Linked DNA regions of Homo sapiens: regions 1 and 3 are each linked to region 2. The links are contacts of gene promoters, found by promoter capture Hi-C in blood cells and fetal thymus (Javierre and others, 2016). All regions are on one chromosome and are shown on one strand. Each heading gives the region's core, a stretch centred on a gene start or on the middle of the fragment in contact. The rest is flanking DNA. Distances are from core to core; before and after follow the strand shown. Region 1 overlaps TRD-AS1 (TRD antisense RNA 1). Region 2 holds the start of CDH24 (cadherin 24). Region 3 has its middle 14 kb from the start of LINC02332.

The links. The method cuts DNA at HindIII sites, captures the fragments that hold promoters and counts their contacts. A CHiCAGO score of 5 or more calls a contact.
Region 1: a fragment that was not itself captured here is called in contact with the fragment with the promoter of CDH24 in region 2 in 2 of 17 cell types (total B cells and naive B cells); the score reaches 6.5 in total B cells.
Region 3: a fragment that was not itself captured here is called in contact with the fragment with the promoter of CDH24 in region 2 in 1 of 17 cell types (neutrophils); the score reaches 5.4 in neutrophils.

What each region holds. Positions count from the first base shown.
Region 1 is chr14:22,382,506-22,385,493 of GRCh38, reverse strand. All of the region lies in intron 2 of TRD-AS1 (TRD antisense RNA 1), which reads left to right. It also overlaps TRA. Among named protein-coding and RNA genes, the nearest start is that of TRD-AS1, 99 kb to the left of the region's middle. RefSeq lists an enhancer at 1,131-1,840. The HindIII fragment of the contact is 2,799 bases long and covers 1-2,726 here.
Region 2 is chr14:23,056,254-23,059,296 of GRCh38, reverse strand. CDH24 (cadherin 24) reads left to right here and starts at 1,777. Exons shown (of 13, transcript NM_144985.4): 1 at 1,777-1,894. ACIN1 (apoptotic chromatin condensation inducer 1) reads left to right here. Exons shown (of 19, transcript NM_001386863.1): 19 at 1-733. The coding sequence ends at 149. LOC105370705 (collagen alpha-2(I) chain-like) reads right to left here and starts at 1,637. Exons shown (of 2, transcript NR_169511.1): 1 at 1,255-1,637; 2 at 648-1,012. RefSeq lists silencers at 1,548-1,697, 1,778-1,897. The HindIII fragment of the contact is 16,339 bases long and covers 1-3,043 here.
Region 3 is chr14:22,541,868-22,544,766 of GRCh38, reverse strand. It overlaps TRA, TRAJ4, TRAJ3 and TRAJ2. Among named protein-coding and RNA genes, the nearest start is that of LINC02332, 14 kb to the left of the region's middle. The HindIII fragment of the contact is 3,702 bases long and covers 1-2,899 here.

The DNA.
Region 1 (2,988 bases), core at 78-2,577, 670 kb after region 2:
TATTGTTCACTTAATCCTCAGAATGTTTGTGTAGGAAGATAATTTGTTTAGTTGAATGATAAATCAACTCACAACCTTTTATTACTTAACTGATTCCTTTCTTTCTCTCTGATGTGGTCTTTTCTTTCAGTCAGAAGAACTTTAGACCCTCCTGGTTTTCCCCCTCCTCTCCCTTGGGCCTACTTTTTTCTTAGCAAACCACAAGAAATAAGGGTCCATAGTAGGCATTGCCCAGGGCTTGGTTTCTTTGCCAGTCCTGTAGTTGGACATTTATATTCTGGAGACAGAGGCTTCCGGGGAGCAGTTGGTATCAGATGATTTATACATTTCTGTGAGTGCTGAGACACAAGATCCAGCTGCTTGTTGGCTTAGCTGTGTCGTAGAGTTGGGCTGGATTACCTTGGTCTTATTCATAGTGCCTGGACAAACAGGCAACCCTCCATACACTATCAGCTCCAGGTCTTGGAACCAAAGTGAAGCCAAAGATCAGAGTCTGTGTCTTCCTTCCCTCTCTCTTCATTTCTGGAAACATCACAAGAAAGAAGAGAAATTCTGCTCAATTTCATGGGATTGTGAGGGTGTTGTCATTTGGAGTCTAATGTGGATCAGTGGGAACCACAGCCCGTGAGCTTCCCACATCTCCCTTGATCCCCCGTCATGTCATGTCTTCTCTGAGCTTAACTGAGTTTAACCCCCAACTTGCAAGCCAGGAACTGGGGAACGGAATTTAATTTTCCTTGTGCATCTACTGCATGCCTTCAACTTCCCCACAACACTGACTCATATAACTTTCACAGCCAACCAAGGTATGTATTACGTTCTCGTTTTATGAACAAAGAGGACCTAGGAGGTTAAGTAACGTTCGCAAAGTTTTAGAGCTAATTGTGCTAGAGATAGAACTTGAATCTAGATATAAAGTTCTGACAATTTCTATGACCATATACAGCGAAAAGGAAGGAGTAGGCCAATTCTCCTTCTTCCTCTACCTACCACTGTCTTTGTGAAAGGGTCAAGCAATGCTGGGAGGGAGGAGATTCCTTAGCTGTGTCCTTTCCCAGTAGCTCCACTCCCCAGGCCTCCACCACATGTCATGAATCTAATCACTCCAGTGGTCAGCTTCAACTTTCAGCAGGTGCTGGGATTTGGCCAGGGCTTGCCCTGGTAGTCATGTGAAGGGAACAGCCCAGTCACTGTCACATCCTTAGCAGCCCGCTGTCACTCCCAGTGTCCTTAGGGCCAGAACTGACCAGCATCCCAGAAATTCCTGAGCTGAATCTTGTTCCCAGGGACTACTGAACCCCTGAGAAGGAGGGTGGGGGAGAGCCAGATACCCCCACCCACCACTGTGCTTTATCCTCTGACAGGCTGGACCCGAGTGAGGAAGATCAGTGGCAGGAGTGACCTCCAGCCAGACTCCTTCTGCCCTTCACTTTCCCACAATGGGAGGGTGGACCCGCTTGCTCTGGGCCAGTTTCTCATGGGCTTCTCTGAAGCAGGTACTTGCCGATGTGGGAATCCCCATACTCTCAGGGGACCCTGAGATGTTGGGGACTTCCACCCCTCAGAAGAGGGAGGTGATAAAGTTGGCTGGGACCTGCAGGCTCGTCAGCCTCAACTACGTAACAAGTGGCAGGGCTTGCCTGCTTGTGAGAGGCTCTGTTGTCTTTGGAACAAGTTGAAGGAATTGACATTAATATTTTTGAAGTAAACATAGGCCCTGGAACTCAAGGCACAGGCCAAGCACCCCTCAGGTAAAGCTGGGGCCAAGGTGAAACAAGCAGATGCAGGAAGTGCAGCAGACGAGTGGCCAGAGGACAGGTGTAAACCCCAGAGAACTGGTCAGGACTGACTGCAGAGAGGGTGGCAGACACCGTCACTTCTGGCACAGGCTCAAAGGGGTTTGCAAAGAAAGAAAAAGGAAGAAGTGTTAAGACAGTCTGACGGGTGATGAGTGTTCTATTAGGGTGGGATTTTTGCATGTGGGAGAGGACTTCTGATTGGTTTTCAAGTAAACTTTTCAATCTTTGATTCGTTTACTATGTATTGGTAATACATGGGGATTTTCCAGGCTGGGTAGGCCCATACGAGTTTTCCAGTTTTCACTGAATTTGAAAATATGGTCGTCTGCTTTGGGTCTGAGTCTCACATAAGCAATTCTCAACCCCAACTCTGCCTTCTAATCTTAGGTCTTGGGCAAGACTGTTAACCTTTCTGGGCCTCAATTTCCTTGTCTATAAAAGAAAAGGGTTAAACTATGTGATCATCTGGAAACCAACTCTAGGTGCTGAGAAGGCAGAGGTCCCTTCCAGGTGGCCCACCCCTTCCTCGTCCCCTGCAGTCCTCAGGCAGCAGGCTGCCCTTCTGCAATCAGTTTACTTCTGGAAGCTGCTGTAGATACTCAGCCTAATTGGATTTTCCGTGTGTAAAGATGTGAGTAGAGTCACAGAGAGGTTTCCTCCAGGCTCTGAAGGCCTCCAGGATCACTCTGGATGACAAATAGAATTTAATCAGTTGATCAGTGTGCCTAAATCCTCTTGTCATGGTGGTGATGTTTGCAGTTCAATTTCATTTTTATAGAATAAGGGATTCAGTGATTTGGTGAGAAAGGGAGGTGTTTCTTTTGTAACCATGATATTGCCATATTATTTAGCCCCGATTTGAGTGTGGTTCTCTGTTGAGCACCATCCCCAGTGCATTAAATGGAAAGAAACTTCTCTCTTGAAGCTTCCAGTCTGAATCAGCAAGGTGGTTCTCATATGAAAGGTAGACAGATATACAGGCTAGTGCAAAAACACCAAAAAGTTAAACCTGCCTTCCCATGAAGTTGCCATATCTTTGACATTGTGAACAAGCACCAGCAGACAAGTGAGCAAGGAATTAACCATGAGAGTAACATTCCTGTCCCAAATTCAGAGCCATTAATGGTTCAGGAATAGGTCTAGGAGTGCCGAGGTCCTTAGCTGGCACCATCAGCCTACTCCTCTCCCT
Region 2 (3,043 bases), core at 528-3,027:
GAGAAAGGGAGCGGGACAGGGGGGACCGAGATCGGGATAGGGAAAGGGACCGAGAACGAGGCAGGGAAAGGGATCGCAGGGACACCAAGCGCCACAGCAGAAGCCGGAGTCGGAGCACACCTGTGCGGGACCGGGGTGGGCGCCGCTAGCTGGGAAAACACTAGAGCTGCAGGTACCAGCCACTCGGCCCCAGGGGGTTATGGCCACAGAGGGATAGGCACAGTCTCCACCACCCTGGAGCCAAGGGTCTTTCACATCACCTATCCCTACATACATACCAAATGGAAAAGTGGCCATCCTTTTCCCCCCAAACACACCCCCTTAACCTATCTCTTGGGACTTAGCCCGACCCTCCCTCTCATTTCCCATTAAGTCTGAGAGGCAAGAGCTAGGTTAGGCAAGGAGGTGGTTGGCCAGAGATGGGGAACAGCCAGGTGCCCCAGTCCTCTGATTTTTCCTCCATCCTGCTTACCACCTCCCTGGGTACTTACAGCCTTCTCTTGGGAACAGCCGGGGCCAGGACTGGGTCACCTATGAGCTGAATCAGCATCTCCTCCTGAGTCCCAGGGCCCCTGCAGTTCCCAGTCTCTTCTGTCCTGCAGCCCTTGCCTCTTTCCCACAGGTTCCACTTTATATCCACCTTTTCCTTTTGTTCAATTTTTATTTTTATTTTTTTTATTATTAAATGATGTGGTCTATGGAAAAAAAAATAAAAATCTGACTTAGTTTTAAACTGTGTGAGTGGCTTTCTTTGGGCAGGTTAAGAAGCCACTGTGGATATCTGAGCGTGGACATCTGAGGATATCTGGAGTAGGAGTTGCTCTCATTCCATGTGTTCCTTTAGGCTGACTGCTTCCTGCTTATTGAACTTCCCACGTCTTTTATCCCCTGCCTTGGCCCTGACCAACCCAAAGCTGTGGACCTTCCTCATTCGGGAAGGCATGGAGCAACCTGTGTCCGTGGCGGCACCCCAGCAGGGCTAGGAGGGTGGGTCCTCTTCTGGTTCCTGGTCCTGTGCACGGTTAAATTAGGGGTTTGGTCACCTGCCTGCCACCTTGGTGCCTCCCACAACTACCACCAGGGGGCGGCAGCTCCTCGCTCTGTTGGCCCCTGTAACCGAGCTTCCCAAGAAGGGTTCCACTGCCCGCCTCCGACCTCCCGCCGATGTCGTGCCTCTGTTCCCGACCCGCTCCCTGGGCCCGGGCCTCGGACTCTCTGGACCCTTCTGCCGTCCTTAAGTGTCCCCCAGCTGACCTGCTACCGTGCTTTGCATGGGCTCTCAAAACGCCGCCGCCTTGCAGCTGGGATTCCATCCACACCAGTCCCAAAAGCCAGCCGGGAACCGGGAGCCCGGAGCCGGGTCTCTCCGCAGTGGGCTCCGAATTCCCCACCTCACCGCGCGCTCGCCCGTTTTCCGCTGCGGGCGGGGACTGGCAGCTTCGCGCTCCCGGGTGCACCCGCCCCGCCAGCTCTTCGGAAATGGCCTGGCGCCGTGGCCTGGACGTCCTCCCGCCCGAGTGCCCTGCCGGGCGCTGCGGGCCCGGTCCGGGAGGGGCGCCGCATCTGTATGCGCCCCGCAGCCCAGGAGCGCCGAGGGGGCGGACGCGCGGCGCCGCCTCCGCCCCCGCCCCCGCCGCGCGGGCCCGGCTGGCCGGGGAGGGTCGGAGGCTGGGCTCTCCTCTCCCGCGCGGCGCGGAGCCGCCTCGCTCCTCCGCAGGCGGAGTCTTCTTCCCCCGCCCCCTCCGTCTCGCTCCCTTGTTCTCGCCGGGGCCGCTCAGACCTGCAGCGGAGCCGCGGCGCCCGCTCCAATCGGCTCGGGGCTGTGCCCCCGGGACCCGGCGACGGGGGCGGGCGGGGGCGCTTCCCGCCGGCCTGGGCCCCTCGGCAGTGCCAGGTAAGGGCGCCTGCCCCGGAGCAGGGGTCGGGAATCCGCGGAGGGGTAGGAGGGGGCCCGCAGCCTGCGGGGGTCTTCGGAGGGGTGCGCTCCGTGGCTGGGAGCCCGCTGCCGGCTCCCTTCTCCCGCGCTCTGCCTCTTTCCCTTCTCCCCTCGCACCTCTCTCCCTCTTTCTTCTCTCGATTTCTCTTCACCCTTCCTTCTCTGCCTGTTTGCCTTCCTTATCCCTTCCCTCTGTCTCCCCAACCCTTCCCTCTCCCTCTTGTCCTTTTTCCATCTCCTCTCCCTCTTTGCCTTTTTCTTTCTCTACCTTTCTCCCCTTTCCTGCCTTTCTCTTTTCTCTTTCTTGCTCTCCTTTCCCTCCCTCTCCTCTCCCCTTCCTGCTATCCTGTTTCCCACTCCTCTATCCCCTTCCTTCTCGCCTCCTCATCCCGCCTTCTCTCTGGTCCCCAGCCTTCCTCCGGTTTCCCCCTTCCCTCGGGAGCAAAGGGACTGTCAGGTGTGTGTCTGCTCTGAGGGAGGAGGGGCAGAAGCCACAGCTACCTGAGGGGTCCTCCCCCCCGCCCCTAGGAGAAAGGAGAGCAGTGGGAAGGGTCTCCTCTCTAGCTCCCTTCCCGTGGCCCCTCCCTGCCTCCACCCCTCCTGTCTGCTCCTTCTCCCAGAATTAAGTTCCCGAGGCCTGGCTTGACACCCCCGAAGCTGAGGTCTGCCCCTGCCTGCCCGGAACTGCCCCCGGTGACCCGTTTCCAAGCCTGGCCCCTAGGACTCCTCTCTGCCTTCAGACACCCAGGCTGCTGCCCTGGTCTCTCTCATTCTGTCTCTTGCCACTGTTCTGTTTCTGTCTCTCATCCAGTCATTTCTCTGCCGGACAGTCCCTGAGTCAGTCTAGCCGTCAGTCATTATCTGTCTCTAGCCTCTGGGTGGACCTCTCTCCCCGGTCACCTCCCCCTGTCCCCCACCCTGTATCCTCTTCCTTCAGCTCTGGCTCCCAACTCCTGTCTCACGAGCCCAGTCCCCCTTCAAGGACTGCACTGGCAGCGTGGGCTGGAGACAGGGCCTGGAGAGTGGGGCTCCCCCTTGTGGGGAGGGACTTTCACAGACTCTCAGCCCTGCCTGAGGCTGCACTCCTTGTCATCTCATGCTGACCCT
Region 3 (2,899 bases), core at 141-2,640, 510 kb after region 2:
ATTTTATTATCAGATGTATACTTAGGCTACTTTGCATGTGCCTTGATTATTCCCAAGATCATGCCTTCTTTCTTGTCGTTCCCTACGCCCAGAACTTCCCTTCTCTCCTTTCTCTGCCCATACAGATCTTATCCATCCTTCAGGGCTCAATGAATCCTTTGTACCACAGGAAACTTCTCAGTCTAGGCCAACTTCTCAGCCAGCACCCTATCCCCTCTGAATCTCTATTGTGTCCATTGACATCATCAACTGGTCAATACTAAAATAGTTTTCTGGCTGCTTAATTTACAATAGTTCAGTACCTTTGTCTAGTTTTTATACCACTTGAGGACAGGACAGGAATCTATCTCACACTTCATACTCAGTCTAACATTTTATAGAGTGATAGTCACATAGAAGGCATTTTACAATACCCATTGAATGATTAAAGTCAAATTTTAATGTGTTTGACCTAGAGAAACATGAATATTCAAGATAGATAGTAATGCTTTTCCCTTCCCAGACCTCTGTAAGAAAATTAGTTACAACATCTACAGCAAGCCTCACCATAGTAATAAGTGATATCTCCAGAGAAAGGATTAGTGACACTGGCCCATGGGGTTGCACGTGGTGCCACCTGGGATGACTCACCAGATATAATGAATACATGGGTCCCTTTCCCAAATGTGAGTTTATCAATTGTTCCTCCAGTATTCATACCGTAGGTGACACCATTGCACAAACTCACAGGACCTACCTATTACTTAAATAAGAGAAACACTGATCTCCCCCACAAGGCAGGAGAACAGGATAATCACACTCCTAAGGGTTAGACCTTCTTTTTTTTTTTTTTTTTTGTTTTTTTGAGAAGGAGTCTTGCTCTGTTGCCCAGGCTGGAGTGCAATGATGCGATCTCAGCTCACTGCAATCTCTGCCTCCCGGGTTCAACAATTCTCCTGCCTCAGTCTCCCGAGTAGCTGAGACTACAGGCGCGTGCCATCACGCCCGGCTAATTTTTGTATTTTTAGTAGAGATAGGGTTTCACTGTGTTAGCCAGGATGGTCTTGATCTCCTGACCTTGTGATCTCCCTGCCTCGGCCTCCCAAAGTGCTAGGATTACAGGCGTGAGCCACCACGCCAGGCCTAAACCTTCTGCTCTTTTGCACTGAAATTTCGCTTCTGATACAAAAGTTCTCCTCCTGTTCCATTCTGCTGTGATTCCCTGGGCTGAGGTTGTGACTTCATATGATTTCAATAAACCAATAATTCCCTAGAACAAAAACCTCAATTCCAGGCAGCAGTATCTTGGATATGTTTGTGGAAGGTTCAGGAGTACTCGCTCATTGCCTGCCTCATGGTTCCTAAGGTCCCAGCCTAAGGATGATGTCTGCAGAGCACCGAGAGCTGGATGGGAGGATTTTCTGGGGATGGGTGGAAGAAACCATTTTGGAGCCCACAGAGGAAAATACCTGGGTTCAAGTTGGCATTTTGGACAAAGAAGAAATAGTTGTCCGTCCTCCCTTGCTCTCCTGCTTCATTCTACTTACTTGGCCGGATGCTGAGTCTGGTCCCTGATCCAAAGATTATCTTGGAAGCACTGCTGTACCCCCACTGTGGGTAAGGTCTTTGAGATAACCTTCTTGATGCTAATCTGCTGGAAGCCACTGGGGTCCCAGAGCAACATTCTAAAAGGCTCCTTGGGTCTTTGTTGCTTACATCTTTTATTTCCCAAGGAAGCGATTCTCCTTTCCCTTTATGATAGTGTAAACCTTAGTATAAGCAAAGCCTCAATAATAATAATTATAATAATATTTTAGAAAAGCTACTACTTATTGATCACTTTTTACATTCTGGCCATTATCTCATATTATTATGATGTAGTTATAGTCATTTTGCTGCTGAGAAAGTGGAGGCTTTATTGAAAACAGCCAGTGAGAGTAGAGCCCAGATTTTCCCCAGGTCTGTGGGCCTCCCTCTACATTGCTGCCTCTATACCTTGTAATTGCATGTGGTATACTTGCCGTTCAGTTAGGGGTCTGGGCCACTTTTACCCTTAGGAGGAAGCTGAAAACTCTCCTAACTCCAGAGAGGAAGATTCTATGAGTAGGGATCCCCATACCATGTTTATTAGCCAATCCAGGGAATTTAGCTACATGCTGCAATAAAAGAGAATTTGTGTTTGCCATTAACTCATCTCTTTCCCCCAAGGGCACTTAGCTAATTTCCTGAATGTTCAGATTATCTGGTGCCGATATTATCAGCTTCACTTGAAAGCACTCATTATTTGGAACTCTTTTTATGTTTCTATAAATTATTCTGCTCAGATTTTCATTTACGCAATTGGCTCTTGGCACTTCTGTGTTTCATATGAGAAATGGGAACATTTTAAGTCACCAAGAGAGCTTGTAGGAATGGAAAATGAGTGCTTCTCAATATATCCCCAAGTTTGCTATAGATCATCACCTGTTTTCTCATAGACAAGTGGTCAGTTCTTTTTGCACTGGTCACTTGCAGGGTCATACTCACATGGGTGTACAGCCAGCCTGGTCCCTGCTCCAAAAATCAGCTTATTGTAGCCACCAGAAAACACACAATCAGATGGTGCTTTACAAGAACTCTGACCTGGGCAGGGCATGCCTGGCTGGGGCACTCCATCTCCTGTCCCTGTTTTCCAGGCTCCCCCAAGTCAAACTTTCTCTGACAAGAGAGAAAAGTCTCACCTACCAGGTCTTCATTCCACCTACTCACTCCTGAAGATGCATCAGAGGCCTCATTGATGCTGATTATTTCTTTCTAATCATCACGAAATAGCTTCATTTTATTTTGGCAATTGTTGAACACCTATGCAACTGTGCAGCAAATGCTCCAGCCACTGTCGGAACAGCTCCGGGGCAGATTAGTTGCAGGCGTCAACATGCAG